2 separate regions of the Homo sapiens genome follow, and region 2 is linked to region 1. The links are contacts of gene promoters, found by promoter capture Hi-C in blood cells and fetal thymus (Javierre and others, 2016). All regions are on one chromosome and are shown on one strand. The core of a region is centred on a gene start or on the middle of the fragment in contact, and the rest is flanking DNA. Distances in the headings are between cores, read along the strand shown.

What was found. The method cuts DNA at HindIII sites, captures the fragments that hold promoters and counts their contacts. A CHiCAGO score of 5 or more calls a contact.
Region 2: a fragment that was not itself captured here is called in contact with the fragment with the promoter of CUBN in region 1 in 3 of 17 cell types (activated CD4 T cells, M0 macrophages and M1 macrophages); the score reaches 8.3 in activated CD4 T cells.

Annotation. Positions count from the first base shown.
Region 1 is chr10:17,127,449-17,131,160 of GRCh38, forward strand. It overlaps CUBN (cubilin), which reads right to left and starts at 2,363. Exons shown (of 67, transcript NM_001081.4): 1 at 2,196-2,363; 2 at 1,673-1,802; 3 at 381-476. The coding sequence starts at 2,317. The HindIII fragment of the contact is 5,551 bases long and covers 1-3,712 here.
Region 2 is chr10:16,999,106-17,002,377 of GRCh38, forward strand. The region is part of intron 28 of CUBN (cubilin); the gene reads right to left. Among named protein-coding and RNA genes, the nearest start is that of CUBN, 130 kb to the right of the region's middle. The HindIII fragment of the contact is 1,608 bases long and covers 554-2,161 here.

The DNA of each region.
Region 1 (3,712 bases), core at 1,113-3,612:
TTTTTTGGTAGAGACGGAGTCTCACTATGTGGCCCAGGCTGGTCTCAAACTCCTAGGCTCAAGCGACCCTCCCTCTGTGGCCTCCCAAACTGCTGGGATTACAGGCAGTTTTTTATATTAATCATCCATTCACTTGCAGTGAGCCACTGCTCCCAGCCCAAGGCCTACTTCTGCAACAAGTGCTTGCACAGCATTTCCTGCCTTCTGTCCATCACTTCTACAGCCTCCATTACAGCTGTGTCATTTAACCAAACAGTGAGTAGTTACATGCTAAATCTCTAAAGAGCACACAAAGTTGGTATATCCCCTACAAAACGGTTACTTATACAATAGAACTAGGGAGAACTCATCGGTTCTTATGACGTAGATGTCAGACTTACCTTGGAATTAAGCTGATAGATTTGACTAGATATATTTTGAGGCAGACCAATTGCACTCCCTTTTAACTCTATAATATCTTCTTTGTTTTTCTGGATCTAATTTTAGAAAAAGAAGAAGAAATGAAGAGCACTAGTGAAAATATCATATTTATCTTTACAGTAACATAATTAAAAACTTGAGTAGTATTCTACTTTAAGCACTAAGATCTTGCCTATTATTATAAAAACCAAAACAACACCATGCGTAATAAACACTGGGCTAAAATAGCCACAGCATAATTCCACTTATCCTTTTCAGTAACAATAGATCAAGGTATTTTCCATTTGTATGTTTTCCTATAATACCAGTTTAGGGTGCTTATTAAGAAACCTGGCTTGGAAGCAGACTGTTTAGGTTTTAAGTCCTGGCTCAGCTATTTATTGCTGTCCTGGGCAAGTTACCTAACTGCTTCAGGGTTTCTTTACCTCTTGTAAAACTAGGGTGACAATAAAGGCCACCTCATAGGACAGCTGTGAAGGTCAAATGAGATAACATCCATACGGTGCTAAGCACAGTGGATGGCCCACAGTAAGCTCTGAATAATGCTGACTTCTAACATTATGACTGAAATATGCAGTGATTATTGGGAAATGAAAACACCCAGTAAGGCAGGAGAATAACTGGCCAATTCTGTTCTGTGGCAAAAGCAAACTGGTCACATGTCCACATATCCTTGGTCCCCTACTTCCTCGCATCCCCTGTGGAGGAGTTTCAGTTCCACCCTCCGTGCCTTCTCTGGACTAGGGTGCATTGTCTGGCACAATGAGCTTCTATCTTTTAGCATACTCCCTCTACCCACTATTAACCCCAGGCCATCGTCCTTTACAAGAACATGTCTGATGCCCAATTATGTTCTCTATGCTAAAGATTCAAGGTACACTAGGAAGGGGGAGGGAGGCTGAAGACAGGTTGATTAATGAATACAATATATAGTTAGATAGAAGAAATAAGACCTAGTGTTTGATAGACCAGTAGGGTGACTATAGTTAACATTAATCTATTGTACATTTCAAAATAACTAGAAGAGAACAATTCATATGTTCTTAGCATGAAGAAAAGGTAAATATTTAAGGTGATGGATATCCCAATTACCCTGATTTGAACTTTACACATTATAGGAATGTATCAAATTATGTATTAATAAAAAATAATAATTAAAAAAGATTCAAGGTACAGATTAATCTAGACTTGTTCAATTAAGTCACCGTATATGGATATACAAAATGACTTCAATATATTTCCAGTGTATTACCTGATGTAAACACTCACTGAGATCTTCATCATTTAATTTAATTTTTCCCAGGGATCCGGTTCTAAACTCAATGTTTTGAGCAGACCCCGTAAGAAACACCAAATTTCCTCTCTCTGTAGCCATTCGAGGCCTATATAATTCAAACGAGAGAATGCATCAGTAATTAGCAAGTACAATTTTTAAACCAAAATAACAAAGTTTCTTACTGAATAACTACAGGCCAAATACATCTTCACTTTTTGATCATCTCAACCCAACTGCCCCTGCTCATCTGCCACTTTTTTCTCTGCACATTTCTCAGAGATACCTCCTGGCAATTGCAAACAGATTATTTGCAAAATGACAGATAATAATTTGTGCATAGGAAAGTAATTTCATACCTCAGTCTAAATGTTTTTCCCTGTTTGCTTCTCAACATAATTTTCCTCAAGAAAAATTGCACCTTTGTTTATCTGGCTATTTGGGAAAACTGGTGAGGAATTAGCCTAGTCCCTGAGCAGGAATGACCCATGTGTTTACTTACTGTTGGAGATTGATGCTTCTTTTTTGTCTCTGCAGCTCAAGTTCTCCAGCTTCGCCATTTACTTCAGCAAATATTAATAAGGTAAGCAAACTCCAAAGAAAAGGTAAAGACATGTTCATCATCAACCTCCCAGGTTGGCAGGTAAGAGTGAGGCCACTCCAACCAACTGAGCATGGGATTTTGGAGAACAGCAAACCAGGCAGGTGTACTTTGAACCATGGAATATCCTGTAACTGTTGAGTTTTTTCTTCTTTGCCCTAGAAGGCTATGTTATTTTTTCTTCCAGAGGGATGTAAATGATCTTAGATCTTCAGTACTCTTCAACTTGTGAGAGGTCAAAATCTACCTTAAGTGATGCGCAACTTAATCATTATCTATTTGACCTTTGAAACAGTAACAAGCAGCTTTGAAAACATCCACTTAAACAATCTTTGCTTAAGAAGTAACTAGGTTTCAACAAAAGTAAACTGGTCATTATCTACACCTTTCTCTGTTCCCCTCCTTCCTCACCTCCCTTGCAGAGGAGTTCCACCTTTACCCAGCGCTAGGAAAACTAGATATCCACATGCAAAAGAAGTTGGAGGCTTACCTCATACCATATGCAAAAATTAACTCAAAAAAGTTCAAAGATCTAAATCTAAGAGCTAAAACTATAAAATTAACTCACAATGGTTCAAAAAATCTGAAACTATAACATAAAACTCAGAAGAATAGGACAAAAATTCATGACCTTGGATTTTGGATTTGGCAATGATTTCTTGAGTATGATACCAAAAGCATGGGCAAAAAAAGAAAAACACACAGACAACCAAAAGATATAAATTGGAATACATCAAAATTAAAAACGTTTGTGCATCAAAAAATACATCAACAGAGTGAAAAAGCAACTCCCAGAATGGAAGAAAATATTTGCAAATCATATATATATGAAAATGGGTTAATATCCAGAATGTACAAAGAATTTGTACTTTTTACTTTTTATCATCCCTGTGGGACCTATGGACGGCTGTGGAATCCATTCCCACTTTCCACACTGCGCTATACACCCTTCCAGCTGGATATATGGTTTGAGGACATGGAGCACTGATGTCCCCACTCACTCTGTGCTGGGACTACAGAAACCACTGAGAGTGATGAAAATATTCTACATTTCGATTGTAAAATCAACTATTGATGCACTCAGACTTTCCATGAGCACACAGACAAAACTGAATTTGAGGGAGAGCTGTAAAAATTTCACTTCTAAGAAAAATCTCTAGGTAATTACCATTGCATTGGTTAATACCCATGCAGGCTCTTTCAGGACAAGCCTGTTTGTGTTTTACTTATTTTGTGTCTTACTTATGTAGGCTCTTTGAGGAGAGGATCATTATGTACCATAGCTTATAATTCTTTACTTATGCCGGGCGCGGTGGCTCACGCCTGTAATCCCAGCACTTTGGGAGGCCGAGGCGGGCGGATCACGAGGTCAGGAGATCGAGAACATCCTGGCTAACGTGGTGAAACCCCGTCTCTAC
Region 2 (3,272 bases), core at 108-2,607, 130 kb before region 1:
GAAGCTTAGAAATCAATGCTGTGGACCGCTATATAATGACCTTTACATTCCTATTCAAGATGTCATATAAATACTCAAAGTTAAGACTGTCATAGCCATCTGACTATCTAAGATGGCCTAGATCTAAATACTGATGTGTTTCCCTTTAGTACATCATCAAAGAGAAAGAAATCCAAAGAAGCCATAATTTTGGAGTTTCTGTGTAATATAAATTTTAATTTCCTGTATACAAAAGGATACTATCTTTCGTCTTAACCTAGAGAAGTTAGCCAATCTTGTCATCTTTTCACTTTGATTAACTTTATCAGTTTCCTTTTAAGCTACTAATTTCAATCAAATTAAAAAATGGTTTCCCAGTAGAAATCCCTTGCTTACAATTCTTCAGGAGAAATCAATCATTTGATCAATCTCTTTTCCCTCTCCTTGGATGTTTTTGAAATGATTGAAGACTTCTAAACAAAGTTTAGTATAAAAAGGTACAAGGAAAGAAATGAGACTAAGATAACTGTACTAACCTTCCCTGAAATAAGCAGTCATGCCTAAGGCTACTGAAAGCTTCTTTATGAAATCCCTCAAACAAACAAAGACAGAGAAAACATGTTCTCTGTAGGCAGTTTCCAAGTTCAACAGTCATACTTCTATTTAGAAATATTATTCAAACCTGCATTCCTTCAATTTCATTATTTTGGTACACAGGGCTCTTGCAGGGAAAAGCTCAAAGAGCCTCCAGGGACCTACATTGCAGGCCTCTCCCTGATTCCTTCCCTCACCTCCTCCAACCTCTAACCTTCCCTCTGCAGGGAGAGGACTCCACCCGGAGAAATGGACACAGGTGGGCAGCACCACGTCCATGGCAGTGGTGTTCTGTGACCCTTTAAACTCTGTCCAAATCTGAGCCTCAAGGTTGTTTTCTCTGATTACAACATCCCATGCTGCAGGCCCCTCGCAGGGCAAATCCTGCATCCAGCCAGCCTGGGTCCTTAGCTTAGGGGAAGAAAAACAACTAAATTACCCAAATCCTCACATGCTCCACCCCATTCCCATGGTCCACTCTAGCCCGGCCAAGTTGTTCTGGGAGCAGCTACCCTTTTACTCTTCACTTTAATATAACTTCTCCCTCTTGTAAGCGAGTTTGTATAACTAAACCTTGGCAACTGACCAGATGATCTCCGTGGTTTCTCCCAGATCGGTGGATTCCATCAGCAACATATATAGCAGCTCCAGAACAGCACTTTATAAATGAGTAATAAAGCAGAAATTGTGTTTAAGGATTGCAAATAACATCAGCTATTTCGAACTTGTCTTTTGCCTAGCAATGCGCCCCTCCGCCCCAACCCACATATTATTGCTACTTGAACCTAAAGAAAGAATGAATTGTGTCACTTAGTGGGAAGCCTTTGAAACTGGATCACCATTTACTTGGGTAAGATTGCACACATCTTTTTAAAAACATTTATTATTACGGGAATTTATAAAATTACCTACTATAAGCTCTGACCTTCTTTGCATTGCAATATCATTTGACCTTTTTTTGCAATGAAAAGCTGTGGGGAAAAAATATTTGCTTTCAGGCACCATCGTGCTACTTATTGCACGGCCTTTGAGTTTGACATCACACACTGAGTTTTGTGTTCTGATTCCATTGCTTAGTGGATGTGTAAGTTTGGACACATCACTTAACTTGTCTCAGGCTTCTTCCTCAGTTTTCTCATCCATAATAAGGGAATGATAATGCTCATTTAAGAAAATTATTGGGATGAGACATGAGATTGTGTTCGGAATTGGTTTCTTCCGGTGGGTTCTTGGTCTCGCTGACTTCAAGAATGAAGCCACGGACCTGAACAGTGAGTGTTACAGTTCTTAAAGATGGTGTGTCCGGAGTTTGCTCCTTCAAATGTTCAGATGTGTCCGGAGTTTCTTCCTTCTGGTGCGTTCGTGATCTTGCTGACTTCAGGTGTCAAGCTGCAGACCTTCACAGTGAGTGTTACAGCTCTTAAAGGTGGTGTGTGCAGAGTTGTTCATTCTTCCCGGTGGGTTTCTGGTCTCGCTGGCTTCAGGAGTGAAGGTGGAGACCTTTGGAGTGAGTGTTACAGCTCATAAACGTAGTGCGGACCCAAAGAGTGAGCAGCAGCAAGATTTATTGTGAAGAGCAAAAGAACAAAGCTTCCACAGCGTGCAGGGCAACCCCAGTGGATTGCCACTGGTGCGCAGGAGGCCAGCTTTTATTCCCTTATTTGGCCCCGCCCACATCCTGCTGATTGGTCCATTTTACAGAGCGCTGGTTGGTCCACTTTACAGAGTGCTGATTGGTCCGTTTTACAGGGTGCTGATTGGTCTGTTTTTACAGAGTGCTGATTGGTGCATTTACAAACTTTTAGCTAGCCACAGAGCGCCGACTGGCGCATTTACAATGCTTCAAGCTAGACAGAAAAGTTCTCCGAGTCCCCACTGGACCCAGGAAGTCCAGCTGGCTTCACTTCTCAAGATCATATTTTTAAATTACACATGTTGAGTCATGTTTTAAAATGATAACATCAACAACAGTAATAGTGAATGAGATGTCAATTAAACCAATGCACTAAGCGTTTAATCATATTTTCATTCACTCTTTACATGGCAAGATAGTTTATTTTTATCATAATATCTTCAGACAAATTTAAGATTACATTTAGGTGGTAAAATCTATATTATTTATCCTGCATTCCTTCAATTTCATTATTTTGGTACACAGGGTCAAAATAGTCTATATTTGAGTAGCCTGTGGAACTAGGAGGAGAAAAAAATCAGGGACAGAGTATATTATTGTCATTACTGATCTACAGATTATCAAATTCTACTAACTCTTATAAGTGGTAGTTACTGTCCTCCACCAGATTTGTTCTGTTTGTGAGACAATGCTGCTGCCACCTGGCACTGCTTCCTCTGTTCCTCTGAGTACACAGTGCATTCACACAAAACAAGTCCTTGGATATGTAATGTTTGAAACAAATATGGCAACATTTAAGTCAATGGTCGAAAAGAGAAACCTCTGGGGACAAAAATTCAGGTTCTACGCTGAACGTCACATTTGTTCTGAGTTGGCTTAGAACTCAAGTTTCTACACTTCATTTTTGGCTGCTATGATATTTGAAACTGAAAAAAAAAAGTGTGGTTTTGGTTTTTGTGTCATACGAAAAAGTGTGGAATCCCCTGCAAAGTACATGCATTCCTCTATTGGGGATATTGTTGCCAGGGAACCAGAACACAAACAGAAGTTTCGAGAAAGCCCTTTC